Linked DNA regions of Homo sapiens: all the other regions are linked to region 2. The links are contacts of gene promoters, found by promoter capture Hi-C in human tissues and cell types (Jung and others, 2019). All regions are on one chromosome and are shown on one strand. The core of a region is centred on a gene start or on the middle of the fragment in contact, and the rest is flanking DNA. Distances in the headings are between cores, read along the strand shown.

Region 1 (3,218 bases), core at 657-3,156, 440 kb before region 2:
CCACATTCTCTTATTTGCCACATAATTAATGATAGACATAATTGTGCCACATGCTAATTAAGCTTAATTAGTAAGTTCTTATGAATGACTACAATTGGTGGGACTTGTTTGCTACCAAAAGCAAATTTTCAGTTCTCTATTTACTTAATTAGTTACCTACTATTTATAATCAGGATCAGTTAAGTTATATTTTCTGTTTTGTATCATACATGTTGATCCTCATGTATATTGAGAAACAAAACTCCTGGCGGGGCACAGTGACTCACAGCGCTTTGGGAAGCCAAGGCAGGAGGATCTTTTCAGGCCAGGAGTTCAAGACTAGCCTGGGCAACGTAGTGGAACCCCATCTCTACAAAAAATAAAAAATTAGCGAGGTACAGTGGCACATGGCTGTAGTCCTAGCTACTTAGGAGACTGATGGGGGGATTGCTTGAGCCCAGGAGTTCCAGGTTACAGTGAGCTGTGACCTGTACTCCAGCCTGGGTGACAGAGCAAGATCCTGTCTCTTGAAGGAAAAAAGGAAACAAATTCCTGAGACCTTATTCCTAGGCAGCTGAACTTCCTTCACTCCAGGACACTCGTTGTTACCAACTCTCAACCTCTACCAGTCCCCTCTTATTCCCACATCTCTCACTAGCACTCATCTATCACACTCAGGGGGACTTGTATATAACATGTAACATTCATTCACCAGCAAGTATTTGTTGAGCACTATGTGCCAGAGATTTGAGCAAGGCACTGGAAATATATGCAATGGTTGGCAAAGCAGCCTGGTCCCTGCTCTCATGGATCTCACAGACTAAGGGGGCAGACAAAGCCCAGATTGGAGTGGAGGAGGTAGGCAGGAAGTTACCATATTTATTTCACTTTCTAAACTACAACCTGTCCTTTATCAATAATAAAGATGATGGGCTGGGTGGTGGCTCATGTCTGTAATCCCAGCACTTTGAGAGGCCAAGGTGAGTGGATCACTTGAAGTCAAAAGTCCAAGACCAGCCTGGCCAACATGGTGAAACCTTGTCTCTACTAAAAATACAAAAATTAGCCGGGCATGGTGGCACACTCCTGTAATCCCAGCTACTAGGGAGGCTGGGGCAGGAGAATTACTTGAACCTGGGAGGCAGAGATTGCAGTGAGCTGAGATCATGCCACTGCACTCCAGCCTGGGCAACAGAATGAGACTGTCTCAAAATAGTAATAATAATAATAATAAAGGATCTCTGTTTGTCTTTTATTTCTTATTTGGTTCAGCACTCAGGGAAAACACAGCTGTCATAGTTTGGGCCCCCTCTACCCTCCAGGAGAGGATGGTGGTATAGAAACAGTGCTTGGGGTCAATAACCTGGTGTGGAGTAGTTGAGGGGGAGCTGAGGTTAGGTAGGAATTGATGAGGTGAAGATACTGGGGAAGTGAATTCTCAGAAAAGATGGCCTTTGCAAAAGCCCTGAGGCAGAATAGAACTTAACAGATTCAAGAAGCTCATTTGATGTGGATGGAGGGGTCGATGCAACAGGAGAAATGGCTAGAAGACTGGAAAAGTGGAGGGTCCTGTCTTGAGGATACTGAGAAATCATGGAAAGGTTTTAATGACATTTCCCTGCCCCTTGCATCTCAACCCATTATTTTCCTGGATAGGCCCTCTTATCTTCAGGTATGGAGGTGCTGTGCAGACAAGTGTAGTGTCTTTTCAGGTTGAAACACATGGGCAAAAACCATGCTTAGGGGGGTATAGAGTGGAAAGAGTATGGGCTCAAGAGTCAGAATGCTTGGGTCTGTATGATGTTTTACACATTTCTTTTTTTCTTTTTCTTTGAGACTGAGTCTTGCTCTGTCGTCCAGGCTGGACTGCAGTGGTGCGATCTCGGCTCACTGCAACCTCCACCTCCCAGGTTCAAGCAATTCTCATGCCTCAGCCTCCTGAGTAGCTGGGATTACAGGCACCTGCCACCACGCCCAGCTAAGTTTTTTGTATTTTAAGTAGAGACGGGGTTTCACCATGGTGGACAGTCTGGTCTCGAACTCCTAACCTCAGGTGATCCTCCCACTTCGGCCTCCCAAAGTGCTGGGATTACAGGCATGAGCCACCGCACCTGGCCAAATGTTTTACTAATTTCGTAACCTTACCAAGCCACTTTCTTTTTTATACAATTGGGAATGTAACATTTCTACCCTTCATCAGCTCTAGTAATGCCCTCTTTCTAACACAAGTTTCAAGCTCCTTTTTGGGAAAGGAATCACAGAATCATAATTGTTAAATCATGAAGAGGCTTTAAAGTTCTATCTGCATATGATATTTGGATACCTTCTGCAACACTGAGGATCAGTTGGTTTATTGTCCAGTATTGTGTCCAGAAACAGGAAGCTCACCACTGTCTGAAGCAGCCACTCTATATTGGGGCTCTATTAAAAGGGTTTTGGAGGGGACCTAATCCAAATCTGCTTCCCTGTGTTCTCTCTCCAGGGGTCTTGGTAGTACCCCTAATGCCTTTTCCATGTGACAGCCCTCCAGGGACTAGAAGTCACTATCTCTACGGGACCACTTACTCACCTAGAATGGAAAAGCTTGTTTCTTCAGCTTTTCTAACAACACTAATCAAACGGTTAATTCCTCGAGCAAACACAATCCTGAAACATTTATGTACCTAATAATAGAGCTTAAAAACATGAAGTAAAGTTAGTGGGAGAGTTTAATAATAATAGCTATCATTTACTGATTACCTATACTGCACTCACTGTTAAAGATACACAGATAATTCTCCATCAGTTCTGTCAAAGTCAAACAAGTAAACAAGTGTCATACAATGTTACAGATACTGTAACAGAGGTCTGTGCAGGAAAAAGGCAGGGCGGGCACTAAGGGAACAGTGGTCTTTGTGAGAAAGAGGCCTGCCTCTAATGGGAGATGACACAAACTGCACCTTAACAATTGAGTAATACCTTCTTTGAGGTGGACTTACCCATCTGTAGTATTTATTAAAATATCATTTTAGAGACTTTAGTCACACCAACTGTTCTTCAAAACATCCACTGTCAGTAACTCAAATGCATTCCTACAAGAAATGTGTTTTCCCAGTTATTCTTTACATAGCTTCTGTTCGAGTCAATAATGGAAACCAGGCAAAGAAGAAAAGTGGACTACTGTAATTTGCTGTACCTGCAAATGCATAGTGCAAGTGTTTGGAAGGGTGGAGCCTCAACTAGTCTTTCCTAAGCACTGA
Region 2 (3,180 bases), core at 83-2,582:
GCCTGCTTTGCCTGGGTGGCTTTGAGGGCTTGATAAGCCTTCCTCTTTTTCAGGAGATTTTCTGGAACCAAAGGGATTTTTCTTTGCCTGATGCAGAAAATTGAGATCAGAGATAACATTTAGAAAAGAACACTTGGCCGGGCTCGGTGGCTCAAGCCTGTAATCCCAGCACTCTGGGAGGCCGAGGTGGGTGGATTACCTGAGGTCAGGAGTTCGAGACCAGCCTGACCAACATGGTGAAACCCCCGTTTCTACTAAAAATAAAAAATCAGCTGGGCGTGGTGGCGCACGCCTGTAATCCCAGCTACTCGGGAGACTGAGGCAGGAGAATCGCTTGAACCCGGGAGGCGGAGGTTGCACCGAGCCGAGATCCCGACACTGCGCTCCAGCCTGGGGGACAGAGCAAGACTCCGTCTCAAAACAAAAACAACAACAAAAAAGAAAACGAACATTCAATGGATTTCCAAACCAATTCAATATCCTGGGCTTTAGGGAACATTACTGTTTTCAAGTATCTGAAGAAAGATTCCCCTGAAACCTGCGGTTTCTGACTCCAGGCCTCATAAATCCATCCCTAATAGTCACTCATCCCCAAAGCCTCGGAAAATAATGAATCCTTTAGCCTCTGGGTTCGTATAAGTTAACAGGGTTTTCACGGCCACAGTTCTTCATAGGCACTAGCAGCGACGAATCTATGGGGTTGGGGCGGGGGCAGGCCTATCTGCAGAGTTAACACTTGTCGGGCTGGGTGAATTCAACTGTGGCACTCCAGCCCGCTGCCTGAAGTCAATCCTCGCCTCTCCAGATAACCCGAACTTGACCGCGGTCCCCTCCCTCCTCCGCCACAGCGCTACTCCTCCTCACCCCCACCCTTTGTAAACTGTGGCCTTTTCTATTCCTAGAGCCCACAGGAATCCGCCACCAAGGCATAAACACCGTGGATGGCACCGGATACTCAAGACCCCACTCCAGATATTCAAAGCCCCAAACACTCACTCTTGCTCCGCCATCTTTCTAGTGGTGCAGCTACTGATCATGCGCAACCCCACCACATGGGGAAGACAGCACACGCTCTGTTTACTTGACCATAGAGACGTCTGTTCTAGCTCACGCTGGAGGACCAGTCAGCGTTCACTTAGCCGCAGTGAGCCCTTGAGGTCCCGCTAACCCCGATTCCTGCCAAAAGTTGCACCGCTTCTTAGGGTTTTTAGAGCCTGTGTTATTTTCAAAACCCAGCCCTTTTCTTGTAAGTTACAGTTTCATCACAAGCGGCCTGGCTGTGGACAGCAAAGTGCTTCCCACAATGCACCTATGGCGTCCGCTCCTAGCTACGGCGCCGCACTTCCGGCGCGGCTGTGCTGCGTCTCTGGGGAGGAAGACAGGCAAACTCCGCGAAACATTTTCGCTCTGTGGAAAAACTTGGAGGCTATGGCTTTGGCTCTCACGTGTAGGTGGAAGTGTTTGTTGAGGACTTAGAGTGGTAAAGCAGGTAGCTGCAATTCCGTCTGCTTGGCCCCGTCGATGCGTCCTTGAACACGTTATTTAACCCCTCTATACTGCGGCTTCATTACCCATAAAATGGGTGTACAGTAATAATAGGTCTACCTAATGGCGTTACGAGGATTACAGGAGATTAGATAAAGCGTTTAGCAGTGTCTGTCAGCACTATGTTTGTTACTATTACTGCTGGACCGAAAACTACAACATGCTTCCTTCCCGTCTAAAACCGTTACACAGGCCGGGCGCGGTGGCTCACGCCTGTAATCCCAGCACTTTGGGAGGGAGGCCGAGACGGGAGGATCACCTGAGGTCAGGAGTTCGAGATCAGCCTGGCCAACACGGCGAAACCCCGTCTTGGGCGGAGGTTACAGTGAGCCGAGATCGCGCCACTGCCCACCAGCCTGGGCGACAGAGCAAGACTCCGTCTCAAAAAAACAAAAAGAAAAGAAAAGAAAAAAAAAGAATAAAAATAAAACCCTTATGCAGCTCTCATCGCCCGGAATTTGCGTTCTTCCCTCCCAGTCTATATAGAATCCTGAAAAACAGTAGGTCGGGCCGGTGGCTTTCACCTGTAATCCCAGCACTTTGGGAGGCCAAGGCAGGTGGATCACTTGAGGTCAGGAGTTGGAGACCAGCATGGCTAAGATGGTGAAACCCCGTCTCTACTAAAAATACAAAAAATTAGCTGGGCGTGGTGGCTCGCGCCTGAAGTCCCAGAAGGCGGAGGCTGCGTGAGCCGAGTTTGTGCCACTTGCACTCCAGCCTGGGCGACAGAGCGAGACAGTCTCAAAAAAAACAAGAAATAAATTTTTTTTAAAATTAAAAATCCTGAAAAACAACACAAGTCTTATCATCTCTGGAAACCTCCAGAGCAGCGCTTCTCAAGCATTAATAGTGAATAGGAGTCACCTGAAGATTTTACTAAAATACAGATTTTTATTCAGGAGGCCGGGTGGGGAGCTGATATTCTGCTTTTTTTTTTTTTTTTTTTTTGAGATGGCGTCTCGCTCTGTCGCCCAGGCTGGAGTGCAGTGGCGCGATCTTGGCTCACTGCAAGCTCCGCCTCCCGGGTTCACGCCATTCTCCTGCCTCAGCCTCCCGAGTAGCTGGGACTACAGGCGCCCGCCACCACGCCTGGCTAATTTTTTGAATTTTTAGTAGAGATTTCACCTTGTTAGCCAGGATGGTCTCGATCTCCTGACCTCGTGATCCGCCCGCCTCGGCCTCCCAAAGTGCTGGGATTACAGGCGTGAGCCACCGCACCTGGCCAATATTCTGCATTTTTAACAGGCTTCAGAGTGACGCTGGTGCTACTGGTCTATGGGCTGACTAGTAAGACTCTAGAGTAGTGTCTGATTTCCCTCAGGACATTATTATATTTTTAATATTTCTTCCACATGATACTAGGGGGGGCAGGAACCATGACTGCTTACTCATCACTGATCCTAAGGATCTAGCACCAATTTCTCGATTTTGGCACTATTGATACTGATACTGGTGGCAGCTAAAGGCCTCGTGTTGCCATGTAACTAGTCCAACCGGAAAGAGTGCCATGGGCACAGGTCACTTTCTGATGAGTAAGTGTCAGGACAACCCAGCATTCAAGGTCACACACTGAAAGAGGGAGGCTCATTCTCTTTCAGCACCTCACCATGTGTCTTTGTAAAGAGGCTAAACACA
Region 3 (3,177 bases), core at 332-2,831, 340 kb before region 2:
CTCCAACAGACCCAGCCTCTTCTCTACAAAACTGACTTGCCCATTGCGTCCCCCAAACCCTGATCAACTTGCACCACTGTCCCCCTCGTCACCAGTGTTGGAACTTTCATATCGTTCTCTTGCTCCCATGTCACTCCCCCATCCTAAATCAGGCCATTATCCCCTCATCCCTAAACCACTGTGAGAGCCTGATCCATGGTCTCCTCTCCCGGTCTCTCCCTACACCATCCATTTGGTCTATGCACGAGCAGCCGTTGCAGCCGTCTGAGCCTCCTACAATACTCCATGAGTGACCCCTGCCTCTCACACTGCCTATGGCCATGCCTTCCAAAATGATGGGTCTAAACCCTCAGGAGACCGTGTGTCTGTGATATCAAAGCTGCAGCATAAATTTGAAGCACCTGACTAGGTCATTTTTACTCAAAGTACCAGACCAAAGTAAACAAAACCCTTTCTGCATTGAAACAAACCCAAAGTTGGGAAATTGAATGCAAATTCTTACATTTTTGAGATAGAACAGGGAAAATTTTCTCTGAATTCAGACCCTATTCTTACAGGCACACCAGTGCCTCAGGGTCCCCCTCTGCCCTGGCATCTCAGTCTGGGGACTCCCAGCTGCTCTCATGACTACTGTCCAACCCAAGTGGTGGGGCTCACCCTGGGAGCTGTCCGGCTGCTTCTCTTGCATTGCTGTTGTGCCACTCAGCTGTGACCAATGCTGCACAGGCTCCTCCTTGCAGGGGCTTTTCAATCAGCCTGTTCATCTGCCTGGTTTTCAGGCCCCTTGTCTCTCTCTCTCTCTCTCTCTTTTAAACAAAGTCTCGCTTTGTCACCCACACTGGAGGGTAATGGCACAATCATGGTTCACCGCAGCCTCAATCTCCTGGACTCAAGCAATCCTCCCACCTCAACCTCCTGAGTAGGCAGGACTATAGGTGTGCACCACCATGCCTGGGTAAAGTTTTTTTCTATTTTTTGTAGCTATGGGGTCTTGCTGTGTTGTCTAGGCTGGTCTCAAACTCCTGAGACCCCCCGTCTCTGTATCTTTACAGGCTTGGTTCCCTGGGTCTGCTTCTTTCTCCTTGGGTAAGGCCTGCCAGGCCTCTCTGCTTCATTCCAAATTCAAAAATCCACTGTCTACCTGCCAGTTCCACACAGGTGTCCAACAAGCAGCTCAAACTTCACAGGGCCACAACAGAGTAAAGATGACACATGCCATCCACCCAGGTGCTCAGGTCAAAGCACAGGAACCATCCTTGATTCCCCTGTCTGAAGCCCCTACATTTAACCCACCAACTCCCGTCAGCTCCACTTCCAAATGTGTCCCAATCCACCCTCTCTCATCGCCACTGCCCCAGTCCAAACTACCACCATCTCTTGTCTCTCGTACAACAGTCACCAAATGGGCCTTCCTGCTTCCACTCTTGCTCCCTCCAAGCCTTTTCTCCACACAACGGCAGAAGCGATCTTTTAAAAAATGTAGGGCCGGGCGCAGTGGCTCACGCCTGTAATTCCAGCACTTTGGGAGGCTGAGGTGGGTGGATCACGAGGTCAGGAGATCGAGACCATCCTGGCTAACACAGTGAAACCCCGTCTCTACTAAAAATGCAAAAAATTAGCCGGGCGCGGTGGCGGGCGCCTATAGTCCCAGCTACTCGGGAGGCTGAGGCAGAAGAATCGCTTGAACCCGGGAGATGGAGGTTGCAATGAGCCGAGATCGCGCCACTGCACTGCAGCCTGGGTGACAGAGTGAGACTCCATCTCAAAAAATAATAATAATAAAATAAAAATAAATAAATAATATAATAAAAATAAAAAATGTAAACCAGATAATATCAATATTCTGCTTAAACCCACCATGGCTTCTCATAAAATAAAATCCACTGTCAGGCTGGGTGTGGTGGCTTATGCCTATAATTCCAGCACTTTGGGAGGTCAAGGCGGGAGGATTGCCTGAGACTGCCAAAATTCAAATCCTGACCTTTGGCAAATTACTTCACCTCTGAGTGTCTCCCTCTGTCATGTAAAATGGGAATAACAAAAATACCTACCTCATAGAACTAGTATGAGAATTAAGTAAAATAATGCATGTAAACAGCACAATGCCTGGCTCAGAGTGAGCTCCCATCAATATTATTAGCTCTCTGGTCATTTCTTGCTGGGATTTTTTTCAATACCTCATTTAGCACCCAGTGCTATGCACATAAATCCATGAGAAATATTTGTTGAATGAAAAAATGAAAGTGTAAAGGAAATAATTAAGAACCTGGGGAAAAGGGAGCATAAGCAACTATGTGAGAGGAGAAGCCAGAAGCACAGCCAAAGGGAAAGAGAAAAAGAGAATACACACGCATGCACGTGCACACAAGCACATGCAGACACGTCTATCACCCACTACTGGGGAAACGCTGTTGGCAGAAGCAGCTGGAATTCATGGCAACCAGGAGTGCCCCTCCTGCTAAACTGAAGTGTTTGGGCTTGGCACCAGTTCTAAAGAGCTGTGAGGCAGGAATATCGGACTCAGTGCTCCAGGTTCTCTGTACCTCAGCCCCACATTTTTTATTTTTGAAGATGACTCACTCCCCAAATGCAAGCTTCTGTGTCCACTATATAGAAGCAAGCCTATAGAGCAAGAAGACCCTGAGGCAGGGTCTCACTCTGTCCTTCAGGCTGAAGTGCAGTGGCGAGATACTGGCTCACTGCAGCCTCCGCCTCCCAGGCTCAGGTGATCCTCCCACTTCAGCCTCCCAAGTAGCTGGGACTATAGGTGTGCACCACCATGCCCATCTTATTTTTGTATTTTTTTGTAGAGACGGGGTCTTGCCATGTTGCCCAGGCTGGTCTCGAACTCCTGGGCTCAAGCAATCTGCCTACATCAGCCTCCCAAAGTGCTGGGATTATAGGCATGCACACTACCTCACCAGGCCTATTTTTAAAAATTTTTGTATTAAATGAGAGTATATGATAAAAGCAGTGATAGTGCACTGAGATGTGGGGACTTAAATGGTAATAAGGGCAACCACAAACTAGAGTCATCACCAATCTACTAACACTTTTGCAAACACTTCACAAAGTGTCTTGACATCTATTTTACACGTATATCTCTTAGTTCTAACTTGGCTGATAATGGGAATCCCGTGAGGAGGCTTTAAAACTTCCTGTAGATTTCTCACCTCC
Region 4 (2,814 bases), core at 279-2,778, 320 kb after region 2:
GATAGCTTAAGGTGTTACCGGTAGAGAGTGTCTGGGTTCTTGGTGCTTTGAACAAAGAATTGGACAAAATACACAAAGCAAGAATGAAGCAACAAAAACAGATTTATTGAAACAAAAAATCACACTCCATAGGGTGGGAGCAGCTAGAGCAAGCAGCTGAAGGGCTTGGTTACAGAATTTTCTGGGGTTTAAATACCCTCTGGAGGTTTCCCATTGGTTACTTGGTATACACCCTAGGTAAATGCAACCAGAGACTGAAGTTGCCAAGTTACACCCTATGCAAATGTCTGATTGGTTGCGAAAAGTGACCAATCAGAGGCTGAAGTTACAAAGTTATACTTCTATGCAAATGAAGACTTGGCCCTTGACCAGCCTGATTGGTTCCAGGAGGGGACCAATCAGAGGTACTTTCAGTTTTTCATCTGCCAGGCAGAAAACAGGGTGGGGTAGCAGGGAGGAGAGGCTTGCAAAGGGAGTAGCCTCTGATCATTTGTTACTTGGGTGTGGAAAGTTGGGGTTCACCCAGGCTGGAGTACAGTGGTACCATCTCAGCTCACTGCAACTGCGGTTTTCCTTTTGATTTAGTTCTAGGAAGTCAGTGTGAATCTGCCTTAGGTTCTCTACCTCCAAACCCTATTCTCCTGCCTCAGAGGCAGGTGAGAGAGGCCAGGGAGACCAGGAGCACTGGCCTAAATTGCTGACCTGCAGAATTGTAATCTAAATAAATGCTTGTTGTTTTAAGCCACTAAACTTTGAGGTGATTTTGTATGTACCAGTAGCTAATCAATTCAGTTGCATTGTTAGATCAGCAGCTCAACTGGCATTTGAAATCTGGTCTCACCAACTCCAAGGCTCATGTTCGTCCCAAGACAGGCTGTTCCCCCTACAGGCCTACTTCTAGGCAAATTATTTATTTCCTAATTAAAATAACCAAGCTTGTGTATGTTAGGCCAAAACCCAGTCTCCCTTCTTCTGGACTGGTCCTAAACTAATTAGTTGGGTTTCTCTTCTCCTGTCCTTCCTTCCTTCTCTCTCTCTCTCTCTCTCTTCCAGCTTGCTCTGTTGCCCAGGCTAGAGTGCTGTGGTGCAATCTTGGCTCACTGCAACCTCTACCTCCTGGGTTCAAGCAATTCTTTGGCCCCAAGCCACCCAAGTATCTGAGATTACAGGCGTCCACGACCATGCATGCTAAATTTTTGTATTTTTAGTAGAGACAGGGTTTCATGATGTTGGCCAGGATGGTCTTGATCTCCTGACCTCCAGCAATCCACTGCCTTGGCCTCCCAAAGTGTTGGGACTAGAGGCATGAGCCACCCTGTCTAGCCGGGTTTATCTTAAAGGCCATGGGTAAAAGATTGAGAACTTTCATGTCCTGGAATTCTTTCAAAACATTGGACATAGATCTATCTCAGGAGTGTCACACTGTGTCCAGAATTGGTGGGTTCTCGGTCTCACTGACTTCAAGAATGAAGCCTCAAACCCTTGCAGTGAGTGTTACAGTTCTTAAAGGTGGTGTGTCCAGAGTTTGTTCCTTCAGATGTGTCTGAAGTTTCTTCCTTCTGGCAGGTTCGTGATCTCGCTAGCTTCATGAGCGAAGCTGCAGACCTTCACAGTGAGTGTTACAGCTCTCAAAAGCAGCACAGACCCAAAGACGGAGCAGCACCAACATTTATTGCAAAGAGCAAAAGAACAAAGCACCCCCGCCACACAGAAGAGTACCTGATCAGGTTGCTGCTGCTGGCATTGGTGGCCTGCGTTTATTCCCTTATCTGGCCCCACCCACATCCTGCTGATTGGTCCATTTTGCAGAGAGCTGATTGGTCCATTTTACAGAGAGCTGATTGGTCCGTTTTGACAGAGTGCTGATTGGTGCGTTTACAAACCTTTAGCTAGACAGAGAGTGCTGATTGGTGCGTTTACAATCCTTTAGCTAGACAGAAAAGTTCTCCCAGTCCCCAATATCCCAGAAGCCTAGCCGGCTTCACTTGTCACTGGCACTGGCTGCGGGATTTTGGGGCACCTAGCCGGGCACTCCGGCAGCCCAGAGGGAGCTCGTCCCCCAGTCAAGCCCAGCAGGCGCCGGCCCGCCGCGCAGAGTGCGGGACTTGCGGAGCCCGCGCGCAGCCCCAGCTCCCGCCGGCGCCTCTCTTTTCACACTTCCCAGTGAGCAGAGGGAGCCGGCTCCGGCCTCGGCCAGCCCCAGAGAGGGGCCCTCACAGCGCAGCGGCGGGCTGAAGGGCTCCTCGAGCGCGGCCAGAGCGGACGCAGAGGCCGAGGAGGCGCCGAGAGCCAGCGAGGGCTGCTAGCAGGTTGTCACCTCTCAACACCAAGATAGTTGTATCCGTGGTTAAACTCTGTAGGCATACACTCTGCTTTTCTTGGGGACAAGGTTACCCGCCTCCCACTTTTACAGGGACATTGGCTTTGGTGACAGCCAATTGCAACTTTTTTCTTCTCATTGGGAAGTACTGAGAGTGGGTTTCCTTTAGTCTCTAGTGGGAATATTATAAAGCGCTGGTATACAAAGAGCCCTCAGACAATAAAAAAGTTAACAAAATACATTATATAAATAAATATAAACTAAAAAGATTCTGAAGAACATTTTATGTTTTCTGTACCTGTTGTTGCTGATATAAATTATCTCCTGGGACTGAACTTCGAATTGTCAATTGTCTAAATCTCCCATTGTACTGAGACACATCCAGTGGTCTATAAATTTTATCTTGGGCTGGGCGTGGTGGCTCATGCCTGTAATCCCAGCACTCTGGGAGGCCAAGGCCGGAGGATTTCTTGAGGCCAGGAGTTCGAGACCAG

The links. Contacts are between HindIII fragments. The study calls those that stand out against the background at their distance.
Region 1: a fragment that was not itself captured here is called in contact with the fragment with the promoter of RPL7L1 in region 2 in 1 of the 25 tissues and cell types used here (liver).
Region 3: a fragment that was not itself captured here is called in contact with the fragment with the promoter of RPL7L1 in region 2 in 2 of the 25 tissues and cell types used here (aorta and spleen).
Region 4: a fragment that was not itself captured here is called in contact with the fragment with the promoter of RPL7L1 in region 2 in 2 of the 25 tissues and cell types used here (mesendoderm cells and small bowel).

What each region holds. Positions count from the first base shown.
Region 1 is chr6:43,313,670-43,316,887 of GRCh38, reverse strand. No RefSeq gene overlaps it. Among named protein-coding and RNA genes, the nearest start is that of CRIP3, 6.5 kb to the right of the region's middle. The HindIII fragment of the contact is 4,386 bases long and covers 1-3,218 here.
Region 2 is chr6:42,877,768-42,880,947 of GRCh38, reverse strand. It overlaps RPL7L1 (ribosomal protein L7 like 1), which reads right to left and starts at 1,332. Exons shown (of 6, transcript NM_001366481.3): 1 at 997-1,332; 2 at 1-87. The coding sequence starts at 1,037. RefSeq lists enhancers at 1,071-1,130, 406-1,362, 1,151-1,620, 1,363-2,320. The HindIII fragment of the contact is 12,927 bases long and covers 1-3,180 here.
Region 3 is chr6:43,216,822-43,219,998 of GRCh38, reverse strand. All of the region lies in intron 31 of CUL9 (cullin 9), which reads right to left. Among named protein-coding and RNA genes, the nearest start is that of DNPH1, 11 kb to the left of the region's middle. The HindIII fragment of the contact is 8,126 bases long and covers 1-3,177 here.
Region 4 is chr6:42,553,565-42,556,378 of GRCh38, reverse strand. No RefSeq gene overlaps it. Among named protein-coding and RNA genes, the nearest start is that of UBR2, 9.1 kb to the left of the region's middle. The HindIII fragment of the contact is 6,616 bases long and covers 1-2,814 here.